2 separate regions of the Homo sapiens genome follow, and region 2 is linked to region 1. Evidence: promoter capture Hi-C in 16 types of primary human blood cells and fetal thymus (Javierre and others, 2016). All regions are on one chromosome and are shown on one strand. The core of a region is centred on a gene start or on the middle of the fragment in contact, and the rest is flanking DNA. Distances in the headings are between cores, read along the strand shown. Region 1 holds the start of SLC7A14 (solute carrier family 7 member 14). Region 2 has its middle 16 kb from the start of RPL22L1.

Region 1 (4,912 bases), core at 970-3,469:
AGGGGAAGTACACCAGGAGATAGGATTGGAATCTGCTTAAGGTTGGAGGGTTCCAGGAGTTCCTGGTTTGTGTGAGGATTTCATTGAGTTTATTGGCAGTGGACTAGAAACACATATCATCATTCAAGCTGCTGATGAATGTCTAGAGTTTGTTCCTAGAATCCAAATTTTTTTTCTTTGAAATCGAAGCCATTTTGAATTACCAACCCAAGTCAATTTTACCTAGCAAAGGCAGAAAAGTCTAAACCCTGCTGTCTTGAAATATAGGCACAAACTTTTCTCAGATAGTAAATATTCATAACTATTGTGATTGTGGCTGGTGTTCCAGAAATAAAAGGCCAGGGAAATATGGAGATTTAAATCAGAAATTTATCCAGAAAAAGGTGAAACAAAGAATGCAGTTCTCCAATAATCACATCCCCTGAGCTACAGGCATACATGCAGACTTAGAGCAACACACCAACATTTTAGTAGCTGCATATTCCATGACAAATCCCATCTTCCCATCTTATCACCCTCATAATTCATTTGGACTAGAATAGACTCAGGGTTTTCTTCAGCCCATAGTATTCATACTCTTTACCTTTTACAGTGACTTCTCATGTGCTATCCCATCTAAACATCACAACCATCTTATATAGAAGGCAGGTAGACATTCCTTTCCCATTCTGAAGATGAGAGTCTGACAATTTAAGTGATTTGTGAAAAATCATATGATAAGTAGCTGGCAGAACCTGCACTGAGATTCCAAATTTCTGATTTTTTAACTTTGCACTTTTCCTACAATGTCTCACAGCTTCTTGGTGATCCCAGGAGGTCTAACATATCCTGCAGAACTACTCAAAGCTTAAAATATGGGGATATTGTCAGGCTTAGATGCTCATCGAAGGCAGTAACAAGCTTGAGGTAGGTGGACTAACCAAGACTGTCCTGGCAATGATCAAGCAACTTTCTGGGAAGAGCCCAGGGCAGACCCACAAAGTAGAGCTAGATTTGAACTGCTCCACCCTAGAGGAGTATCAGTCAGCCAGTATTCTCCCCAAACACAAGCCCAGTGAATTCATTTCCAAGGATAGGAGAGTTACATTTTGTTGCCTCCCATGTGTTTTGAGGGCTTGGGCCAAAGTGCAAGAATTTATGTAGATAACTTTCATCCAAATCAGTCTACTCAATGCTTGTTAAATAATTCATTCGGTGATGTGGCCAAGCATGCCTGGGTTGGTCCCATCTAGTCCCAATCCTTTTGGGACATAACCTGGCTCTAGGACACTCATCTTAAAGGAGCTAATACAAAACAGAAACCTTATCTCACTCTTGTCTCCGTTTAGACTGGTACTTGTCTAGCCTGACCTCACAGATGCCTCCTTCCATGTTTAAAAGATGCTTTCACTGTATTAGCACACATCACATCCTTCTTGCCTTGTGAAATTTATTTTAACAAAGGTGGGGGAAAAAGAACTCTCCTTTATTGAGCTCCAAATACCTGTCCAACTCTAGGCTAGGCAATTCTAAGAACATGATGATTTCTCAATCTCATGACAATACTGCAAGGTGGTTATTTCACAGACGAGAGAAGAAAAGCTAGAAAGTTAAATGCTCCAAGGTCATACAGATTGGAATCCTAATGGCTCTTCAAATCTCAAGTCCATGATCTTTGCACCCATAAGATGTTGTGAACCCAACGATAAACTTAAGCTTTGAAGACAGAGGTGGGTCTTGTCTTCTTTAGGAGGAGAGGAGAAATCAACCTCTCTCATTTTTTCTTTCCTGTAGGGCTCAGGGATGTGGAAGTTTAAGAGCAACGAAGGCTCCGCAGAGGATGAGGGAAGCTTCCAGAGGGCAGGAAGGAGGTCTGGACAGCCCAGTCTAGCAGGGGCAGAGCTGCGGCAGATGCCTTCCCAACGCACAGACATTGCAGAGTCCTGCTGGTCCCTGCTTTCCCAGGGCAAAGAACTGCCCCCATCCACGGCCCCCTCAACCTCCCTGCAGCCTGACATAAGACACTGGAGGTCACAACTGGAGGCTCAGAAGGCCAGCGAGGAGTTGTGAGCGGCAGACAGAGGGGAAGGCAGGGGGGCCAGGTGGGAGGTGGTCTGGTGCCAGGCTTGGGCCCAGTATGTAAGGGGTTGGGCAGGCCATGTGACTCCAAGGAGGCGGAGACAGGCGAGCTGGAGGGAGGACGAGCAGGCACGGGGAGGGGTTCGGGGGGTGGGGGCCCAATCTGAATAATTGAGGAGCTGTTCAGCAGCAGCGGCTGCCTCCTGCCTTCCTTTGCCGCCACCACCACTTCCCATCCCAGCTAGAGAGACAGCTCCGCGCAGTAAGTGCGGACTGCCAGCCACCAGCCTTGGCAGCCAGCTCGTCGCCTCCAGCCCCGACCCCGGTAAGTGAACGGCCCCCTTCGCTGCCGTTTGTCCCCCTCCGCGCCCCCCGCGCCCCAGCGGGACCCCTGCAACTGGGATGGCCGCCTCTCCCGGAATGACCCAGGGAGCCGGAGTCACCGGGAGCGGGGGACCAGGAATATGGCGCGGAGGCCCAGGGCGCCCTCCGAGAAGGGGTTCCCTGGAAGAACCGAGGAGGTGGGTCGGGCTCTTTCCTGCTCTGGCCCGGAATGAGGCCCCGACTGCCCGCGGTCTGGGGGCACCGGGCTCTGACTCGCGGGAGCTGCCGGGCGGGGCGGGGGCCAGCGCGGCTCCGGCGCCGCTAGAGCGGGAGGCAGAAGGGGAGCCGCGAGCGGAATGCGGGCAGCCTAGGTCTCGGCAGACGCCGGGCCCGTCCTGTCCCCCGCCTTGGCGCGCACCCCGCACGGGCAGCTCCGTTCTCCGCCTCGGACCGAGACCATGAAACGGAGACGCTTTTCCGGCCGCAGACTCCGGGGAGGTCGGGAGCAACGTCTGCCCTTTTACCTGGGAGCAAACTCCTCAAAGGGACTCCCGCCGAGCCCAGCACCCCGACCAGGATGGTGGCGCCCCGAGGGGCGTCTGTCCCCGGAGAGTGGTGACTCTCCCGGGAGCGGCGAAGAGGACGTGACGGGAGCGGTGTCCAGGGAAGCTCCCTGCCCAGAGCCGGCAGCCCCAGCAAGGGGAGCTCTCCTGCACTGCTTCAACCCTCAGTCTCCTCTCTTCTCCCATTCCAAAGCACATCAGCTCCCCTCTAATCCAAGAGGGCCAGGTTAGGGCTGCGTGGCCACGCGGGATGCAGCCCCCACCCTCCTTCTCTCTCCTGTGTCACCCTGCCCCCTCCCCAAATGAGTATTTTATATTGCGATTGAAGAGTGAGCAAAGCAAAGGCGAGAAGAGATGCAGGAAGGCTAGAGCAGCGGGGCTCGCTCCTGTTCTGGCACTCCTCATCCCCCCACCTGTGTGAAGCTCGTTTCCTTGAGATTTTGAGCGGAGACACTCAAAGGAACTGGCTCTGGCGAAGGGATCCCCGCCTGAGTGTCGGTGAACGTCACTGGCCCGAATTGCCCAAGGGCCGCAGGATGTCACCCTGCCTCCCCCTAGGTATAGGGTCTAGGAGAGCGCTGGGGGCAAGGTAGCTCTCCTCCTCCGACTGAGTGCAGGGAATGGCGCTGTCCGCGGTGCTGAAAGTTCTCAGAGGCTGGGTGCTAATACCGCCAGGGCCCACATTCCCTGCGAGCAGAAACTGCGTTAGAACCCTAAAGGGTTCTAAGCAAGCGACCTAGAGAAACAGGAGAAGAAGGGGCTTTGCCTTTCCCGGTTTTCTGCTTCCCCAGGACTCCGCTTGGGAAAAGGTTCCCGGCTTTCCTGAGTGGAAGAGCAGGAAGCGGGTGTCACTTCAGGATCCAGTTTTGCTAACTTCGGGAGCTTCCTCGTTCTACTTCCTATACCTGAGCAGTGAGACTTCCTGTCGGTAAAGTGTTGAAAGGCAGTTAGGGATGCTGTTTTGATAATAAACATTTCTGTGGCTTTCAGGAATCAGAGAATTGTTAGGCTACACAAAGGAGGGGCTTCATGGTTGTAGCTTTTTCCTCTTCTTAGAACCCTTCTTTCCCCACTGCATGTTATTTACATGCTCTAGATAAAGATCGCTAAGCAGCCCTGTATGTTTGTTTCTTTAGCTAGTCTTTTATATTATGGGCAAGATGGGGAAAGGATTGAGCCAATTTGGGGAGGCCTATTTGTACTGAACACCTCTATCTGCTGGGTAATAATATTTCATTTAAACTTCACAATAGCTGCCAACCAAAAGTATCACACAGAGAAGGAAACAGAAACTTGATTCCAGAGATTGGATTCAAAATCAGATCTATTTAACTCAAAGTCCAAGCCATTTTCATGCCTTCATTTTGGTATTTGGCTCTGAATAGCTGTTATTGGAGATTATAGCAGGAGAATGACAAAGGAGGGAGGCCTGCTCTTCTCTTTCACACACTCTCCTCTCTTCCAACCCTTTTCTCTTTAATCCGTTCACCCACTCACTGTCATGCACTCCCACCCTCCCAACTGCTTTTGCATGCTGCTTGAGATACCACTGTTCACACAACTTCAGCTCCAATATTATGGAAACAAGTTAGAGAACTAAACCAGCAGCCTTTTCTAAAAGAGTAGCAGGGCTTCAGGAAGTCTGGAGAACTAGAGTCCACATGTACTTTCATATTTAGAATTATACTGTTGAATTTTAGAACTAGAATAGCTTTGAATATCATTTAGCACCATCGTTTTACAAGAAAGAAAACTTGGAAACCAAAAGATGGTCATTAGTCTAAGTCACATGATTGAAAAATTAGAACCCAGTTAACTTGATTCCAGGCCCAGGGCCTTTCCCACTATTTCATGGTGTCTGAAATACTCTTCCATACTGCTTTCTTTGATTATCTTTGACTAAACGTCAGCATCAGTGAACTAAATTAAACAACATGCCAAAAATACAAACACTTAACATACAAGCA
Region 2 (4,912 bases), core at 840-3,339, 270 kb before region 1:
TACTTTTAGAAGCTCCCTCTATGTTAAGGCTATTAACTCCTTGTGTGTGATGTAAATTACAATTTCTTTTTTCAGCTTCTCATTTGTCTTTTTCCCCTACTTATGGTATTTTTGTTTTTTAACTTTTTTTTGAGACAAGCCCTTGCTCTGTTGCCTAGGCTGGATCATGGCTCACTGCGTCCTTGACTTCGTAGATTCAAGCCATCCTCCCACCTCAGTCTCCTGAGTAGCTGAGACTACAGGCACACACCACTACCTGGCTCATTTTTTAAAAAATTTGGGTAGAGATGGGGTCTTGCTATATTGCTCAGGCTGGTCTTGAATTCCTGAGTTCAAACAATCCTCCTGCCTGAGCCTCCCAAAGTGCTATTATTGCAGGTGTGAGCCACCATACCCAGCTGCTATTTTTCTTTTGTTTTATTACTAGTTTTCATTTTGTTTTGTTGTAGTTGTTGCTATAGAAGCATTATTTTTATTTTTATGTAATTAAATCAATTAACTTTTTTCTTATTGCCATGGTTAGAAAAGCTTTCCCCGTTATCAAGAATTCATTTATGTTTTCTGCTAGTACTTACATATTTTCATCTTAAAAAAATGTAGGTCTCTATTCTATTTGGAATTTATCCTGGTTTACAATTTGAGAAGTGGATCCAATTATACCTTTTTCCCATGTGACTACCCACCTATACCATTACCCCTGATGAAAAAGTTCCCAGGAAGTTTTGCTTAGCATAGGTTTTCCTACTTACTGTCTGGAAACCCTTGTATGTGGTCATGCTGAAGGGACTGGAGTCTAGATATATAGCTTCAGTGTGTGCTCTTTTACAAGCTGGATGATTAAAATGCCAGGAAGGCCAGTTTTAAACAATGTGTTGCATTTACAAATGGCTTTCTCTTTTCTTTTGATCCCTTAACAGCCCTCTGTGGCACAATATTATCTTCCCATTTTTCAGATGAAAAAACCAGGTCTCAGGTTTACTGGCTTGCCCATGGTCACACCATGGCACCCACCTCTCACTCCTCACCCAGTGCTCCTCCCACACACGGGGCCATGTCACACATCCTGCCTCTCTGTTGCCTACTAGCTTTGTGACCTTGGACACATCTCTTCACCCTCTGGGCCTCAGTTTCCCCTTCTGTATATAAAGAAGTGGTTAAAAATAGGTCAGCATTTCTCGGGCTTTAGTAACACCTGCTTCCTTTTGATAAACACAGATATTTCTCATGTTCCTTGTTCCCAGTTCCAATTGCCACCCTGTGATATAACTGATGCATAAATATCCCCACCAACCAAGGTATTTTGGGGCTTTCTATTCTGAAACAAAACAAAGTAAGATTTTTGGGATAATTTTCCCACTATAAACTCATAATATTGGATATACCTTTTTTTTTTTTTTTTTTTTTTTTTTTTTGAGACGGAGTCTTGCTGTGTCGCCAGGCTGGGGTGCAGTGGCGCAATCTCGGCTCACTGCAACTTCCGCCTCCCAGGTTCAAGCGATTCTCCTGCCTCAGCCTCCTGAGTAGCTGGGATTACAGGCCCACACCACCACACCTGGCTAATTTTTTGTATTTTAGTAGAGATAGGGTTTCACCAGGTTGGCCAGGATGGTCTCGGTCTCCTGACCTCATGATACACACAAGCTTCTTGAGAGTAACATACTTCCCCCATGATAAGGCTTTTTTTTTCTGTCCTAAAATCCTATGAGTTAATGAGCCAAACTGGGAATCATGATCTGCTATCTCAATTATGATGGAATAGATATGTTTTCTCCCAAGGGAGGGAACACTGCAACTCCTCTCTCCCTCTTTCTCTGAGATGGGGAGGTGTGAATTACAGATTCCATACATGTCACAAATATATGGTCAATGATTTCTGCCTTGGCAGTCGCAGTCATGGGAGATGATGGGTGAGTTATATATACTCTCTGCACTCAAGGAAATCCCAGTTCTAACGAGGGGAGCAAATGTGGGTACAAATGACTTTAGGTAAGTGTGGTTCATGCAGTAATAGAGATATTACAAAATGCTTTAGAAGCACCAATACCATAATGAGTGGGAAAAGGAATCCAAGAAGGCCTTCTGCAGGAGGTGGCTTACCCTGACTTCTCTTTAAGGAAGAATGGGAATTGATGGGGCAGAGAAGAAGAGGGAGAGAATTCCAGGCTGAGGAGGAATGGTGATAGTGGCTACTACTCATCGAAGGCATCTGTTTTGGAATCTTTACATACTACATCTCATTTAATTTCCACAGCTACCCTTCAAGCTAGTTATTAGTCCCCTTTTACAAATCAGAAAACCAAGGGCTTAGAGTGCTAAACAGTCGGTCTACGGCCACACAGCTAATAAGTTCCAAATTGGAATTTAAATTCAGATCTCTCTGGCTTCAATGCTCATGCTCTGTAAATGCTTTAGTGTAAAAAAATGTTTCTAAATTTCTCCCTGCCAGGCAATCTTTTCTCACAGTGATGCACATTCAGCTGGCTCCTTAGGAGAACCAAGCCTAAGAATAATCTAGCTTTTGAAGAGAACCAAGCTTCTTTTTTCCTCTTCTGGAGAACCACAAACTGGCTTAACAGAGGGCTCTCTGACGCACAGTTTTATTGTAAGAAGGCCAGTCACAGGAGACGGCCTACTGCCTTCAAGAAACAGCATGGAAGATTCCTTATTTCATCACCCCTGTACTTTTCATTGAGGTATGAAACAGACTTTTCCAATGAGACTTTTTCTCTCCTATTTCAGCTGAGACTCCAAGAACTGAGAACAAAATTAAGGTGCCAAATATTCCCACATTCCAAATCTATGCAGAGCTTACAAAGGAGGTGCTCCAGCTCCAGTTTTCTAAGACTTAGTTCATTTCCTACTTCCAGGACACATGAGAAATTGAAGACTTTTAGGCATTTGACTCATCCTTGAGAAAAACTAAGGCAAAGGCAGTGGCTGGAGCAGTTTGCCTACGGGAGAGCAATGAGGGGTACATTTCCATAGCTACAAGGAGGCACAGGTGCTTCCCCTGGACCAGATGTAGTCCACAGATGTAGTGCACGGGGAAGGACCAGGCTTGGGTTGAGTTCTTGTTCACCTAAGAGGACTGCTTGGGAGAGAAGTGGGACCCCAAACAGAAAGAGTCTGTGTATAAGGGACAACCACATGCTCAGGAGCTACAGGTAGTGAGTGAAGATCCTGAGAAATGGCATTGCTTATGTCACGAATGTTGCAGCAAAAGATTCTCTGTGATAAATCTTTGAGAAATCCAGAAATGTATACTTCAAGAGAAAGAAGAAGCCTTGAACTTTCTTCAAGCCCAGAAAGCCACATCACCAAACTGTAGTGGTGGAGACAGACCTTTTCTGTCCCTTCCTTTTGCCTCCCAGACCCTGCTCATTTCAAGGCCAACCCCAGAGAAGCCAGAGGCAGCCTATTGAAGTTGGAGGAGGTACACACCTTGGAATTCCCTGGTACACAAACTAATACCACTGCCTTTTTGTTTAAGCTATATCATAAACATTCTGACACTTTGACAGAATTTTTGGTTTATTTGTTTTCCTCCCTCACTAGACTGTAAATACTTCGAGGCTAAAAACCAGGTCAAATTTATCTCTGTGTGCCTTTCTGGGTAAGCAAATCCATATAACTACAAAAGAATCCCAAGTCAGATAATTAGTAACATTACCTTTCATTCATAAATGTAGAAAGGCAACCAAGGTTCACTCAAAATGAGTAGAACCAACAGTATCAAAGAAAATGATTGGAATGAACAAATTAAAACAAGTGACCCAGGACAGATATGCAAGTAGCAGAAGAAAGTTTCCCTCCGCCCAAGAAAATCTGGATCCTCATATTGCGAGGTAGGCCAGGTAGGATGAAGGGAAAAGCTCATAACTTCCTGAAGAAGTTTCAGTACTCCAAAGGATAAAAAGAAAATCCCAAAAGCTTCCAGAGGGAAGAGAAAACAAAACAAAACAGTTTACCTACAAAAAAATAATCTTGAATTGGACCTACTAAGGGAGTGCACTAAGCTTACCAGCAGGAATGTCTGGGTCTCATCAGCTATAAGAATCCTTTCCTGTCCTTAGGCTTCCTGTTTTCTATAAATTAAGAGATTAAACCAGCAGATTTCTGTTTCTCTCTCTCTCTCTCTCTGTCTCTCTCTCTCTCTCTCGCTCTGTGTGTGTGTGTGTGTGTGTGTGTGTGTGTGTGTGTGTGTGTGTGTGTTTCCAGGTCTGACTTGCTGTGAATGCTTGTTGATGTACTCCAAGGCTGACCTCTCTTTTGGAGCTTTCCTCATGAAACCCAACAGGCCACTCCATAAATCCACAACACATACAGTGGATTTTTTTTTTAAACTGCCATATGCTTTAAATAAGCATGTGAGTTTATTGCCTGAACACATGCTGATTTATCAACTCAATCTTATTTCTTAAGGACAGGAATAGTGGTTTCGAGTACAGTACACTATAAATAGAAAACACAACACGTGACTGCTGGATTAATCAATCAGCGAACTTTTATGAGCATCTGCAGTATGTCTCTTTCTGTCTCTCTTTTTTTTTTTTTGAAACAGGGTCTCGCTGTCTCACTCAGGCTAGAGTGCAGATCACAGTTCACTGCAGCCTTCACTTCCTGGACTCAAGGATCTTCCCACCCCAGCCTCCCAAGTAGCTGGGACTACAAGTATGTGCCATGAAACCCAGCTAATTTTTATTCTCTCTCTCTCTCTTTTTTTTTTTTTTTTGTAGAGATGAGGTCTCGCTATATCCCCCAGGTTGGTCTTGAACTTGTGGGCTCAAGGATCCTCCTGCCTCAGCCTCCCAAAGTGCTGGGATTACAGGAGTGAGCCATTGTGCCCAGCCAATATGTCTCATACCATGAAAAGTCATAGGATTTTGAGAAGACCATACAGATCTTTTGCTCC

The links. Contacts are between HindIII fragments. The CHiCAGO score rates a contact against its expected background, and 5 or more counts as called.
Region 2: a fragment that was not itself captured here is called in contact with the fragment with the promoter of SLC7A14 in region 1 in 1 of 17 cell types (endothelial precursors); the score reaches 5.6 in endothelial precursors.

What each region holds. Positions count from the first base shown.
Region 1 is chr3:170,583,382-170,588,293 of GRCh38, reverse strand. It overlaps SLC7A14 (solute carrier family 7 member 14), which reads left to right and starts at 2,219. Exons shown (of 8, transcript NM_020949.3): 1 at 2,219-2,383. All of the region lies in intron 2 of SLC7A14-AS1 (SLC7A14 antisense RNA 1), which reads right to left. RefSeq lists a silencer at 3,440-3,734. The HindIII fragment of the contact is 6,611 bases long and covers 1,832-4,912 here.
Region 2 is chr3:170,852,001-170,856,912 of GRCh38, reverse strand. No RefSeq gene overlaps it. Among named protein-coding and RNA genes, the nearest start is that of RPL22L1, 16 kb to the left of the region's middle. The HindIII fragment of the contact is 892 bases long and covers 1,644-2,535 here.